5 separate regions of the Homo sapiens genome follow, and regions 2, 3, 4 and 5 are each linked to region 1. Evidence: promoter capture Hi-C in 16 types of primary human blood cells and fetal thymus (Javierre and others, 2016). All regions are on one chromosome and are shown on one strand. Each heading gives the region's core, a stretch centred on a gene start or on the middle of the fragment in contact. The rest is flanking DNA. Distances are from core to core; before and after follow the strand shown. Region 1 holds the start of ZNF695 (zinc finger protein 695). Region 2 has its middle 20 kb from the start of MIR3916. Region 3 has its middle 11 kb from the start of MIR3916. Region 4 overlaps ZNF124 (zinc finger protein 124). Region 5 has its middle 28 kb from the start of ZNF124.

What was found. The method cuts DNA at HindIII sites, captures the fragments that hold promoters and counts their contacts. A CHiCAGO score of 5 or more calls a contact.
Region 2: a contact is called between a fragment that was not itself captured here and the fragment with the promoter of ZNF695 in region 1, in 1 of 17 cell types (monocytes). The highest score is 5.2, in monocytes.
Region 3: a fragment that was not itself captured here is called in contact with the fragment with the promoter of ZNF695 in region 1 in 3 of 17 cell types (erythroblasts, megakaryocytes and M1 macrophages); the score reaches 9.3 in erythroblasts.
Region 4: a contact is called between a fragment that was not itself captured here and the fragment with the promoter of ZNF695 in region 1, in 1 of 17 cell types (erythroblasts). The highest score is 6.2, in erythroblasts.
Region 5: a contact is called between a fragment that was not itself captured here and the fragment with the promoter of ZNF695 in region 1, in 1 of 17 cell types (erythroblasts). The highest score is 6.0, in erythroblasts.

Annotation. Positions count from the first base shown.
Region 1 is chr1:247,006,582-247,009,496 of GRCh38, forward strand. It overlaps ZNF695 (zinc finger protein 695), which reads right to left and starts at 1,476. Exons shown (of 4, transcript NM_020394.5): 1 at 1,325-1,476. The coding sequence starts at 1,327. The region is part of intron 1 of ZNF670-ZNF695 (ZNF670-ZNF695 readthrough (NMD candidate)); the gene reads right to left. RefSeq lists silencers at 1,069-1,168, 1,669-1,728. The HindIII fragment of the contact is 12,382 bases long and covers 1-2,915 here.
Region 2 is chr1:247,220,652-247,223,566 of GRCh38, forward strand. No RefSeq gene overlaps it. Among named protein-coding and RNA genes, the nearest start is that of MIR3916, 20 kb to the left of the region's middle. The HindIII fragment of the contact is 1,062 bases long and covers 899-1,960 here.
Region 3 is chr1:247,189,376-247,192,290 of GRCh38, forward strand. It overlaps the pseudogene ZNF731P. Among named protein-coding and RNA genes, the nearest start is that of MIR3916, 11 kb to the right of the region's middle. The HindIII fragment of the contact is 794 bases long and covers 1,071-1,864 here.
Region 4 is chr1:247,161,804-247,164,718 of GRCh38, forward strand. The region is part of intron 1 of ZNF124 (zinc finger protein 124); the gene reads right to left. Among named protein-coding and RNA genes, the nearest start is that of ZNF124, 8.8 kb to the right of the region's middle. The HindIII fragment of the contact is 2,038 bases long and covers 232-2,269 here.
Region 5 is chr1:247,142,506-247,145,420 of GRCh38, forward strand. It overlaps a transcript of ZNF124 not described here. Among named protein-coding and RNA genes, the nearest start is that of ZNF124, 28 kb to the right of the region's middle. The HindIII fragment of the contact is 931 bases long and covers 1,049-1,979 here.

The DNA.
Region 1 (2,915 bases), core at 226-2,725:
CTTACCTGCCATTGGGCAACAGAGTGAGACTTCGTCTCAAAAAAAATAAATAAATAAAAAGAACAAATAGTTGATAATGTTGTGTTTGGAGAGACAAAGTTAGCATTTGGGAATGTAGAAAAGAAACTGGAAACAAGATTTCCTTCAGGCCCTAAAACAGTTAGGCTGGGGGAACAGAGTCCTGGATTTGAGGTCCTGCTTGCCATACATTTGAAAAATGCTGGGAAAACCAGTTCCCCTGTGGAGTGTTAGAATACTTAAATGGCAGACAATTAGACTGAGTGGCTTTGATGTCCTGGGATTCTATCTAAGGAATCCTAGCTAACTTAGATGAATTTCTTGTAAATTGCAAACTTGGAGAAAAACAAAACGTAGGCTTAACCAACCACTAAATGCTAATAAATCTCTTATTACATAATCAGGAAATTTCATCCTGGACAGTCCAAATAAGGTGACTGCATAATGGCAACCGATCAATTATTAAACGTGGTTGCTTCCTCGTGCACCTTATGAAGACCTTCCCTTCAAGTTTAGCCCCAAACCAGGGCTAGGGGCTTCCAGATTCATAAATCACTGTTTGCTGGAATAAACTCCTTAACATTTCAAAGGTGCTTCAGTTTATTTTTTTAAGAGGAGAAAGGAGACCGGGCGCGGTGGCTCACGCCTGTAATCCCAGCACTTTGGGAGGCCGAGGCGGGCGGATCACGAGGTCAAGAGATCGACACCAACATGGTGAAATCTCCGTTTCTAATAAAAATACAAAAATTAGCTGGGCGTGGTGGTGGGCGCCTGTAATTCCAGCTACTCGGGAGGCTGAGGCAGGAGAATCGCTTGAACCTGGGAGGCAGAGGTTGCGGTGAGCCGAGATCGAGCCACCGAACTCCAGCCTGGCGACAGGGCGAGACTCCGTCTCAAAAAAAAAAAAAAAAAAAAAGAGGAGAAAGGAACCCACAGACCACAGCTCCTCCCACCCAGGAACCTTTCACGGGAGTCGGGACTCTCCCGACAACCCCTCCGTCATCACAGCACAATCCAGGGAAGACGCGGCGCTGCGGGCGCGGGGCTGCCCCGGGAGGGCTCTGGGCCGTGCCGAAGTCACCAGGCAGAGACCGGACAGTCACCCAGCGGCCGGGATCCCGCTGCCGGCCCGGCCCCCACCTGCGCGGGACGGGACTGAGGGCCGAGCTGCGCCAGCGGGACTCGGCCGCACACTCCGGAGCCGACCGCCGGGAGGCCCGGGGCCGCCAGCGCTGGTTCCAGCCAATTCCAACCGATTCCAACCACCCCCTCTCCCTTCTCGGGACACCCTGCTCCGCACACTCACCATTTCCCAGCTTTTGGGGGTCCCAGCGTCCTCCCTATAAATCTCGCAATACCTGCAGGCCACAGGGCGATGGAGCCTGCGGCAGTCACCCGGGACTCTCCGAGAGGCAGCAGACGGGAACCCAGCACCCCGCCGGCCGCAAGGAGACAAAGGCCCCGCCAGATCCCCAAGGCCGCCCCTTCCTCTCTGGCTGCACGCCTGATTGGACAGTTCTCACGCTAGCGCCGCTGACTGGATGGGGCTCCAGGCCCCACCCCCTCAGGTCTTGAGTGACAGGAGGTGCGATCAGACACTGGGCCGAATGAAACAAGAGTGACAGGTTTTTGGGTGCAGCCCTTTTGAAGCGACATTCCTCACGGCACTTCGACCTGGACCCACCTGCCTGGGGGATAATGGCATTTAACCTTGTATATAAGATTATATCCATTCATAAGTTTTACACACACACACACACACACACACACACACACATATATATTTCACAAATAGAAACAATGAATGATAATTATTTTAAAGTTTCCGATTTCATAACCTTCCGGGCCTCTGGTCTTTTGACCAGGCAGCCTGAGCTGTGGAAAGTGAGGCAATCCTCTCAGGCAGCAATATGCAATATAAATAAAAGGTGAGCCACGCGTGTCATTTAAAATTTTCTAGGATCTGGCGGGTCGTGGTGGCTTACGCCTGTGATCCCAGCACTTGGGGAGGCTGAGGAGGGAGGATCACATGAGGCCAGGAGTTTGAGACCAGCCTGGCCAGTATGGCGAAACCCCGTCTCTGCTAAAAGTATTTTTAAAAATTAGCCAGGAGTGGTGGTGGTCGCCTGTAATCCCAGCTACTCAGGAGACTGAGGCAGGAGACTCGCGTGAGCCTGGGAAGCGGAGGTTACAGTGAGCCGAGATCATGCCTTTGCACTCCAGCTTGGGTAATAAGAGGAAAACTCCATCTCAAAAACAAAAACAAAACAAAACAAAAAAATCGGCTGTGAAGACATTTCCTCCTGCAGAAATTTAGCCAAACAGCTGAGTATGTCTTGAAGTCATTCTTTGGTTCTTAACAGGGCAAAGCTATTTTCTAAGACCTAAACCCTGGACTGGCCATGGGGCAAACCCTCACAACACATATGGAATTCATGCACAGTTAATGCATCTCTTACCTTGAACCAGTGGTTGCTACTAATTTTGTTTCTGATTCAGCCCAGTTCTACAACTGCCCTGCTATGCACAGGGCACTGTACTAGCTGCCCTGGCCTTGGTGAACATCATTGTGGGGAGAGGACTTTGCTGGGAAAAAGTTGCATCCCCCCAGATTGAAACCATTCCACTTTCCAAATTGGAGTAAAACTGAAAAGACCTAGGGGAGCACCCAAGGTTACAACATGAATGAATAGCTCAGAATATTTAAAGTCATTTGATGGTATCATGGGTGAGTGTGTCTCACTTCAAACAAAATAAAACACTACTGTTATTCTGAGATTCTAAGTTAGGATTTATGTAAAAATATATAATAATTTTTTTGATACACAACACACATACAAAAAAATACAAAGCATTCATGTAAAGCTCTGTGAGTTATTACAAAGCAAATACAGTTG
Region 2 (2,915 bases), core at 180-2,679, 210 kb after region 1:
GCCCCGTCCGGGAGGTGAGGGGCGCCTCTGCCCGGCCGCCCCTACTGGGAAGTGAGGAGCCCCTCTGCCCGGCCACCACCCGGTCTGGGAGGTGTACCCAACAGTTCATTGAGAACGGGCCATGATGACAATGGCGGTTTTGTGGAATAGAAAAGGGGGAAAGGTGGGGAAAAGATTGAGAAATCGGATGGTTGCCGTGTCTGTGTAGAAAGAGGTAGACATGGGAGACTTTTCATTTTGTTCTGTACTAAGAAAAATTCTTCTGCCTTGGGATCCTGTTGATCTGTGACCTTACCCCCAACCCTGTGCTCTCTGAAACATGTGCTGTGTCCACTCAGGGTTGAATGGATTAAGGGCGGTGCAAGATGTGCTTTGTTAAACAGATGCTTGAAGGCAGCAGGCTCGTTAAGAGTCATCACCACTCCCTAATCTCAAGTACCCAGGGACACAAACACTGCGGAAGGCCGCAGGGTCCTCTGCCTAGGAAAACCAGAGACCTTTGTTCACTTGTTTATCTGCTGACCTTCCTTCCACTATTGTCCTATGACCCTGCCAAATCCCCCTCTGCGAGAAACACCCAAGAATGATCAATAAAAAAAAAAAAAATTTCCAAATGTCAATCCCAATGGGACAATAATGATCCCAGGGACTGGGCCCAAATGCAGCACCTCAGGGAAATAATAATTCGAGGGATCAAAGAATCCACTCCTAGGACATAAAATGTCTCAAAGGCATTTGAGATTCAACAAGAAAAAGAGAAAACTCCCTCTGCACTCCCGCAGCGGCTCAGAGATGAGAAAATACTCCGGGCTAGATCCGGATTATCCAGCAGGGCAAGGCCTTTTGAAGATTAACTTTGTAACTAAGAGCTGGCCTGACATTACAAAAAAATTACAAAAGCTTGATGGATGGAATGAGAAACCGATTGAGGAATTGCTGAGGGAAGCTCAGAGGGTTTTTGTAAGGAGAGAGGAAGAGAAGCAGAAACAGAAAGCGAAAAGCATGGTTTCCACTGTGGAAGAGGTAGTCAGAAAACGATTAGATCAAGATCCCCCTCAGAGGAGACAAAGCTATAATAGACTTCAACACCAAGAAAGAAGGGAAATGCAGGGAAAACCTCCTAAGACTATGAGTGGATGTTGCAAGTGTGGAAAGCCAGAGCATTTTAAGAGAGAATGTCCATTGTTGGACAGCTGATCCTGAGGTTAAATTGGTCAACAACTGAAATGGATAAAGACAAGCTATCTTAATTTTTGTTGTGTTTTTGTTTGTTTTTGTTTGTTCGTTTGTTTTTTGAGACAGAGTCTCACTCTGTTACCCAGGCTGGAGTGCAGTGGCATGATCTCGGCTCACTGCAACCTTCGTCTCCCAAGTTCAAGTGATTCTTCTGCCTCAGCCTCCTGAGTAGCTGGGATTGCCAGTGTGTGCCCAGCTATATATATGCCCAGCTAATATATATATTTTGTTTTTTTGTTTGTTTGTTTGTTTTTATTTGCAGAGACGGGGTTTCACCATGTTGGCCAGGCTGGTCTTGAACTCTTGACCTCAAGGAATCCGTCCACCTCAGCCTCCCCAAGTGCTGGGATTACAGGTGTGAGCCACCTCCTAGATACCTTTAAATAGATGAAGATGAGCTACTTTTTACTGAAGAAAGATTCTTCAGTGGAGGCGAACCTAGCGGCTCACTCCTGTTGGCAGTGGGTTACCAGTTGTGTGGAATTTGAAACTAATTTATACGTTCGTGAAATTCTTAAATTGTGTGGTCAACCAGACATCCCAGGGCTTCAGACAGGTCGAAGCCATCCTCCAAAAGGTGAATGATAGCATGTGTTCACCAGAAGCACTTAATGAGACATGGTACAATTTTACATCTCCTCTTTGACTCTGTTGGACAGTTGTACATGGTGCTAAACAATACTGAATATTGTATTTTTCTTCCCCTGATTTTGCTACTACAGAAAGCTTAATTTAAAAGGTGGCTGATATCCTGTTTCTTAAGACACTGATAATAAATACACTAAAAAGGGAATATGGATGTGTTTATAGGAAAAGCTAATAGTTTGCTTGTGGGCATTCTAAATGGTGGATGACAAGCTTAACTTTAAACGTTTTTTTTTTAATATTTATGTTTTTTTTCTAGTGAGTGGGTCTCCAGGCTTCTATGACTTGTGTTACCAGGCTAAAGATAAAGATGGAATCCTCGTTAAATCAGACCATGCCAGTCTCAAAATTGAGAGACTGATCACAAGGGAGAAATTGTTAAATGAAATAAGTGGAAGACCATTGTCCCAATGCTGTCTTTCTACTTTCAGTTCCTGTGTAATAAACTACAACCTAACTTAGTATGCAAATAAACGAAAACCCAATTTAGGAGTGTATTTTTTGGTATAGATAGCTGGGTCTCAGCCAGTCACAAGCACTGAGCTTCAGCCAATTCCAGGCAGCCAGCAGATCACAGCATGTCGAAATGAGGCACACACCTTACTGTAATCAAGTGGAGGAAAGAATCTCAGAACTTGACTATCTTTCTGAAATAAGACAGGCAGACAAGAATAGAGAAAAAATGTAAAGGGACAAACAAAACCTCCAAGAAAGATGGGATTATGTAAAAGACCAAATCTGTGACTGAATGGGGTGCCCGAAAGAGATGGGGAGAACAAAACCAAGTTGGGAAACATACTTCAGGATATCATCCAGGAGAACTTTCCCGACCTAGCAGGACTGGCCACCATTCAAATTCAGGAAATCCAGAGGACCCCAGTAAGATACTCCATTCGGAGATCAACCCCAAGACACATAATTATCAGATTATTCAAAGTTGAAATGAAAGAAAAAATGTTAAGGGCAGCCAGAGAGAAAGGCCAGGTCATGTACAAAGCAAAGCCCATCAGACTAACAACAGAGCTCTCAGCAGA
Region 3 (2,915 bases), core at 218-2,717, 180 kb after region 1:
AAATTTCATTAATAGTATCCTAGAAAAAAAAATTAGAAATGAACTTAACAAAATAACTGCACATACTATACACTGAAAATTATTTAAAATGCTGAAAGAAATCAAAGAGCTGAATAAACTGAGATATACTCAATATTCAAATATAGCAATACTGAATATGAAGATCAAAATACCCAACAAATTTATCTACAGATTCAATGCAAATTCCAATGTAGCTTTTCTTTAATATAAATTGACAAGCTCTTCCTAAAATCCATATAAACATATAAAGAAAATCAAACACACAAGAATTCTGAAAAATAACAAAATTCAGTAACTTACACTCCTGATATAAATTCTTACTACAATGTTACAGTAATTAAACAATATAGTACTGGCATAAGGACAGATTTATGTAGACCAAAAAAAAAAAAAAAAAACCACAGAATTAAAGTTCCATTAATGAACAAATTAATCTGTGGTAAAATTATTTTTTTCTGTGAAAGGTGTTGTGACAGTCATTATATTTATAATTCTTTAGTTCAATATGAACTCTGGTCCTGAGTAAGACATGAGCAGGTATTAAAGGCTTTGCCACATTTTTTACATTTGTAGGATTTTTCTCAGGTATGAATTTTCTCAGGTACATTGAGGTCTGAGCAGTGGTTAAAGGTTTTGCCACATTCTTCAGATTTGTAGCATTTCTCTCTTGTATGAATTCTCTTATGGTTTGAAAGGCTTGAACAAGATATAAAGACTTTACCACATTCTTCACATTTATAGGGCTTCTCTCCAGTATGAATTCTTTTATGTTCAGTAAGGTGTGAGCACCGGTTAAAAGCTTTGCCACATTCTTCACATTTGTAGGGTTTCTCTCCAGTATGAATTCTCTTATGTTTAGTGAGGTTTGAACACTGGTTAAAAGCTTTGCCACATTCATCACATTTGTAGGGTTTCTCTCCAGTATGAATTCTTTTATGTAGAGTTAGGTATGAGAACCAGTTAAAGGCTTTGCCACATTCTTCACATTTATGGGGTTTCTGTCCAGTGTGAATTTTCTTATGTTTGGCATGGTTTGAACTGTGGTTAAAAGCTTTGCCACATTCTTCACATTTATAGAGTTTCTTTCCAGTATGAATTATAATGTGATTAGAAAGGCTTGTGAAGGATTTAAAGACTTTTCCACATTCTTTACATTTGTAATGTTTCTCTTCATTATGAATTGTCTCATGTTCAAGAAAGCATGAGCAGTGCCTAAAGGCTTTCCCACATTGTTTACACTTGTAGGATTTCTCTGCAGTGTGGATTCTCTGAAGTGGAGTTAGAACTGAGGATATGTAAAAGGAATTGTCACATTCTTTACAGTTGGAAGATATCTCTCCAGTATGTCTTATCTTATGTCTATTTAGATTTGACGATTTACTAAAGACTTTCACACATTTATTAAATTGAAAGATTTTGGTATGTGTAGTTGATAAAGATTGGTTAAGTCCATTACAACATTCTTTCTGCACCTTAGATTCACCCACACTTTCCCAATCTTTCTTTAATTGTAAATTCTCAATGCCATAGCTTCCATATCTTCTCAGTATCACTTTTTGAAATGAATCTTTTATACCATGCTCTGGCAAGAGGTCTTGGGTGAAATGAGAAGAAACAGCTGAAAAAAATTAAAATAACATATTATCCAACTTACTGGACTTAGATGAATATAATTTAAAAAGCTAATATATGAAATTATACCAAACACATTAGCGAGATAGCATAATAAAATACTACAGGCCCTGATTTTTTGATGAACATAATATAACAAAAATATACTGAACAAAATGCCTTTGTGAGAACTCTAGAAACCATATTAAAAGCCATAGACAAGGGGAAGGAAAGCTTGTTACATTTACCCACCACAACTCTTTCTTCTCCTAAACACAGCATAATGACTTCAGGAATAAACTCCCAACTCCTAGCTTCTCCTTCAATAGAGACAGTAGTGGCACATATGCCCATACTTTTGATGGAATTTCCAAAGACTAGTTTCTGTCTCCCATGACACAAAGTGCTGAAAGGAATAGTGGTAGAATAGAACCAACCTTTAATTCAAAGGTTGGTTCTGCTGAGACCAAAGGTAAATAATTGTTATAGCAGCAGAGAGGCTGCAGTACTACAGACAGACAACAGATTTAGCAAATAATTGATTAGAGAAGAAGAAAGAAAGAAGAAACAAGGGTAAACCTCTTTAACTGGAAATTAAACACAAAATTCCAGAGAACATACATCCTGAGAATAGGTTTGAGAGGCTCATGGAAACCCTAGCCCAAGTCACTTGGTATCAGATTATCCAGGACAAAGCCATTTTATAAAGATTTTGACAGATGGCTTTTAGTGCCCAAATCTCAACCAAAGATTGCAACATATACATTAGGGTAACATGGCTCAATCAAAAAAAAAATAAATAAATAAATAAATAAATAAATAAATAAATAAATAAATATCCAGAAATCAACCCTAAAGAAATGGAGATGTATAAGTTACCTGAAAAATCTGAGATAACCATTTGAATAATGCCCAATGAGTAAAACAGGAAAACAGACATGAAATTAAGAAAATGAGAAACCCTGACAAATTCTCAAATGTAAAAAAAAAAAATTAAGAAGCTCAACACATTTCAAATAGGATAAACACAAACAGACACATAACAAGATACATTATAAGCAGTTTCAAAAAATTACAGATGAGAAGAGAATCTCAAAAACAGAAAGGGAAAAGCAATGTGTCATCTATAAGCATGCTTCTATGAGATTACCAGAGCATAGTTGTTTCATATACCATCATTCTAGTACTATAGAATTTTATTTTTGTGTATGTGATCACGGGGCACACAGAGAAAATAGGAAACCTGCCCTACTTGAAGAAACAAATCTCCAGAAACTGACCCT
Region 4 (2,915 bases), core at 1-2,500, 150 kb after region 1:
AATTAGAGAATCTCAAGTGGTGATTACCACACCAAATAAATACGCAGAAATGAAGGCCAAGGCAGTGGATATACTCCATTGCTATTTCCAGTAATTTGAACTTTACCACAATCTACAGTCCAGTAATTTTTCTCTAATGTCCAGAAAATTTATTGTGCATTATCAGAGTTTATATTCAGCATTCTTAAGGAAAAGAAATTCCAACCATGAATTTCCCATCCAGCCAAAAGAAGCTTCATAATCATTTTCAGACAAGCAACTACTAAGAGAATTTGTTCCCACTAGATCTGCCTTATAAGAGTTCCTAAAGGTAGTGCTAAATATGGAAAGATCATTAACAGCCACCACAAAAACACACGTAAGTACATAGACCAGTGACACTATAAAGCAAGCATACAAACAAGTCTGCATAATAACTAGCTAACGACACAATAACAAGATCAAATCTACACATATGAATAGTAACCTTGAATGTAAATGGGCTAAATGCCCCAATTAAAAGGCAAAATGACAAGCTGGATAGAGAAACAAAACCAATCGTATGCTGTCTTCAAGAGACCCATCTCACATGCAATGACGCCCACACATTCAAAGTAAAGAGATAGAGAAAAATCTACAACACAAATGGAAAACAGAAAAAAGTAAATCTAGGAGCAATAGGCCATACCATATAGCCTAGGTGTGTGGTATATTATGCCATCTAGGTTTGCGTAAGTACACGCTATTATGTTCTCACTATAAAACTGCCTAACAACACATTAAGCAATGTATGACTGTATATCTTTACTTATATATAAAATATATTAACCCTTGGCAAAAAAAAAAAAAAAAGCAGGGATTACTAGTCAAATTTCAGATAAAACAGACTTTAAACCAAAAACAAAAAAAGACACGGGTATTACATATTGGTAAAAGGTTCAATCCAACAAGCAGACCTAACTATCCTAAATACGTATGCACCCAACACAAGAGCACTCAGATTCATACGGCAAATTCTTACACACCTACAAAGAGACTTAACCACAGAGTTAACAGTGGGAGGCTTCAATGCCCCACTGATGGTATTAGATCATAAAGGCAGAAAACTAACAAAGATATTTGAGATCTGAACTCAACACTTCACCAAATGGACCTAATGGACACCTACAGAACTCTTCACCAAAAAACAACAGAATATACATTCTTCTCAGCTGCACATGGCACATACTCTAAAATCAACCACACATTCAGCCATAAAACAATCCTCAACAAATCAAAAGAAAAAAATGAAATTAAGGTAGAAACCAAGAAATTATTTGAAACTAATAAGAACAAACATACAAGAATCTCTGGAACACAGCTAAGGCAGTGTTAAGAGGAAATTTTATAGCACTAAATGCCCACATCAAAAACTTTGAAAAGATCTCAAATTAGCAACCTAACATTACACTTAGAGGAACTAAAGAAACAAGAGCAGACCAACCCCAAAGCTAGCAGAAGACAAAAAAACCAAAATCAGAGATAAATTGAAGAGAGAGAGAAAAAAAAGCAAAAGATCAACAACTTCAGGAGTCAATTTTTTGAAATAAGATAGATTGCTAGCTAGACTAATAAAGAAAAGGAGAGAAGATCCATATAAACACAATCAGAAGTGACAAAAAGGGTATTACCACCAGACTCACAGAAACTAAAAAAAAAAAAAATCCCTCAGAGGCTATTATTACAAACATCTCTATGCATACAGGCTAGAAAACCTAGAAAAACGAATACATTCCTGGAAACAAAAAACCTCCCAAGATTGAACCAGGAAGAAATGGAATCCCTGAACAGAAAAATGAGCTCTGAAATTTAATCAGTAATAATAAACCTATCAAACAGAAAAGCCAGGACCAGATGGTTTCACAGCTAAATTCTACCAGATGTATTAAGAAGAGCTGGTACCATTCCTTCTGAAACTATTCTAAGAAACTAAAGAGGAGAAACTCCTTAACTCATTCTATGACAGCCAGCGTCATCCTGGCAGGCATACAACACATGGCAGGCATACAACAATGAAAAAGAAAACTTCAGGCCAATATCCTTGATGAACATAGATGAAAAATCCACAGATGTAAAATACTAGCAAACCAAATCCAGCACACACCAAAAACCTATTCCACCACCATGATTAAGTAGGCATTATCCCTTGGATGTAACATTTCAATATATACAAGTCAATAAATGTGATTCACAACATAAACAAAACTAAAAACAAAAAAACAACATGATCATCTCAATAGATGCAAAAAAAAGCTTTAAATAAATTTCAACATCCCTTCATGTTAAAAACCCTCAACAAACTAGGCATCGGAGAAACATACTTCAAAATAATAAGAGCTATCTATGAAAAACCCACAGCCAACATCATAGTGAATAGGCAACAGCTGGAAACATTCCTCTTGAGAACTGGAACAAGGCAAGGATGCCCTCTTTTACCACTCCTATTAACATACTACTGAAATAAAATGCATCCAAATAGGAAGACAGGAAATCAAACTTCTCTGTTTGCAAATGATATGATCCTATACCCCCCAAAACCCCACAGTCTCTGTTGAAAAGCTCCTGATAAACAACTTTAGCACAGTTTCAGGACAGAAAATAAATGTACAAAAATTAGGAGCATTTCTATACACGAATAATATCCATGCAGAGAGCCAAATCAGGAAGGCAATCCCATTCACAATAGCCACAAAAAGAATAAAATATCTAGGAATATAGCTAACCAGGAGATGAAAGATCTCTACAATGAGTTACAAGATGCTGCTGGGAAAAAAAAAACAAAACAAAACAAACAGAGATGATACAAATGAATGGAAAAACATTCCATGCTCATTGATAGGAAGAATTAATATTGCTAAAATGGTCCAACTACCCAAAGCAATTTAGATTCAATGCTA
Region 5 (2,915 bases), core at 264-2,763, 140 kb after region 1:
GAATATATATTTATATCTTCCCCACTTGAACTCAGAAAAGGCTGTAGCTCTTCACTCTCCCAGGCCGAGTCCTCAGAAGATTGATATTCACCAACCTTTAATAGCATTCTCTCTGGAGAAATGCTTCTATTTTTTCAGTTTGATGAAATCACCATGCCATTGTTTTTACTTTTCATTTTCTTACACAGAATCTAAGACAAGGTATATTAAATGCTTAATGATCCTATTCTTCACCTGGCTCATATCATTTACCTAATTTTAAACTTTCTTCTACTCTAAAAATTTCAATTCATCTTATGTATTGTAGAAGATTTTAAATCTAATACAGGTATTGTCTTTTTTTTTTTTTACATATATTCTATTGGCATTTTACACTGGGATCATGGAATATTTCATTATGTAAATTATTTAATTTTTATGTAGAAAAAAGAAAATTATTTTGGTGTTTGTTTTGTTCTTTGCTCTATAATTTCCATTACATACTGATTAGATAATTTTTTGAGTATTTTAAATTTTAGGTAATTATGCATTTTATCCATAAAGAATCTGCATGTGAGAGAGAGAGCTATTTTCTCCTCACTTCTATTTCATCTCCATCCTGACCTCCCCAGAATCCTCAGCTCTTTGTGTAGTTGGATAGCAGTTTATAATTCCAGTAAATGGGCCTAATTCAATAATATACCACAAATCAGTTTGAAACCAGGACATGCCTTCAAGACACACCCAAATGCCTATATATATAATAATACTAAGTTACAATTGATGTAAAAAATAAAATTACAAAAGGATTGTTAAAGTAAATTCAAAGGGACATCAGGCCTAAAAAATCCCTGAGGAAATGTGTGATCAGAGGCTTTCCCAGGCACACACTGCTCTACAGCCCTACCACACAGGCTTAACCGAGAATTTGACCCCGGAAGGTGACGGATGAACATGTGTCCTGGTATTCTGATCTACAGAAATCCTGCCCTCTCTTAATGATCCATCCAGAGCTCTAGGATCGTTTCTAGATTTATTTACTACACACAGACTGGAAGTTTTTGACAGAAGCTTTGAACTGGGAACCCTACCCTGTTCCACCAGCTTCTCTAGAAGTACAATGTTCTAATTACTCCTGAGAGACTCCATCTGAGGGTAACTCTCTGAGCCAACAAGATTTAAAGTGAGAAGAGGAAAAAGGCAAGAGTCGGGCTATGTCTAGGATTCCCTTACCTGACTTATGTCTTTGGTTTACCCAAGTATTGATAAGATTCGTCTCTAGATGGTAGAAACTAGATGGAGGAGCACTAGCTCACAGAAGTAGACAATGGGATCAGTGCTCCATAGATCCAGCTTAAGCTCAGCCATGAGATACTAAGTCTCTCAGAAAAAAAAGTAACAGTTCTCCATCATCTACCCCCGTAGCCTCAGACAGCTAGGCAGTAAGCATGCATGCTCAATAAAACTCCACATCCACATCACAGAGAGAGATAGAACAATCCCAAAGGACCGTGAAGGGTGATGTGGAGAGACCAAAAGGATATGAACCCACAGCATCTGCCCTACCATCTGCTCCAATACTAACCCTGTCCTTTCCCAACATGATTTCCAGATTTTTCTTTGGCCCTCACTAAGGGTGATTCAGAAAGACAAAAAGTTATTAATGCCCTTCCATTCTCCATATCTCCTGAGGTCTCAGTTGTTTACTCTGCGGGTTTCGGGTAGCTATCCCTCCCCAACTACATCCACAAAATTAGTGTATCTCATTCAGCACCAAGAATTTCACCTTTATTCTGGTCACTCCCTACCTTCTCCTAGACATTTTATCTAGAAAAGCCAGATGAAATAGCGACAAAAATGTTTACATAAAACTCAACCACAACTAAGTTGGAGTATCATAATCCCACTTTGGGCTAGGTTGCCACTCAGCCTACTACAAACTAGGCTTGGGGCAGTTAGGGGAAAGCTAGGGTTTAGAGCTGATGTGAAAGTCAGCTAAAAGCTTGCTACCGAGCCCCTGTCAAGCTGAATCCTAACCCAAGGAGGACTGAGGGCTGCGTAGCTTTATATTCCACTTTTGAGGTGGGTGTCAGCTAAAAGCTTGCTACAGAGCTCCTGTCAAGCTGAATCCTAACCCAAGGAGGACTGAGGGCTGTGTGGCTTTATATTCCACTTTTGAGGTGGGTCAATTTGAACTCTCTGAAAGCCCGCAAAAGACTAGCTCTAAACCCTAGTCTAGTACAAACTAAGCTAGGGTTGCATTTAGCGGAAAGGAAGATTATCTTTTCTTTCTTTCTTTTTTTTTTTTTGAGACAGAGTCTCGCTCTGTCTCCCAGGCTGGAGTGCAGTGGCCCGATCTCAGCTCAATGCAACCTCCGCCTCCCAGGTTCAAGCAATTCTCCTGCCTCAGCCTCCTGAGTAGCTGGGACTACAGGCGTTCGCCACCATGCCTGGCTAATTTTTGTATTTTTAGTAGAACCGGGGTTTCACCATATTGGCCAGGCCGGTCTCGAACTCCTGACCTTGTGATCCACCCGCCTCGGCCTCCCAAAGTGCTGGGATTACAGGCGTGGGCCACTGCGCCTGGCCAGTGAGATGCATCTTTTCAGGTAGTCAGTGTGGAATCTCAAATTTGGGAAACAGATCTCTACAGCTCTCAACCATTTCATTCTTATCCTGGAGGCAGTCAAAAAGAGATTATTCCTTTTTAGAAAGAATTACATTCAGTCAACAAATTGTAACATATGGATCAGGAGAAGGAAAAGATGGTAAAATCAGCCAATTTTTAGTAGATTTGATGATAAAAGACACAACGTTGTCAGAGTGCAAATGGTTCTGAAATTTGAAAAGGTGACAGAGATTAGTTTCAAGGGACACATGGTGTGTCTGGAGTCAGTTTTTATGTTGATGGTGTGAGCAGTGACAAGGTATTAACA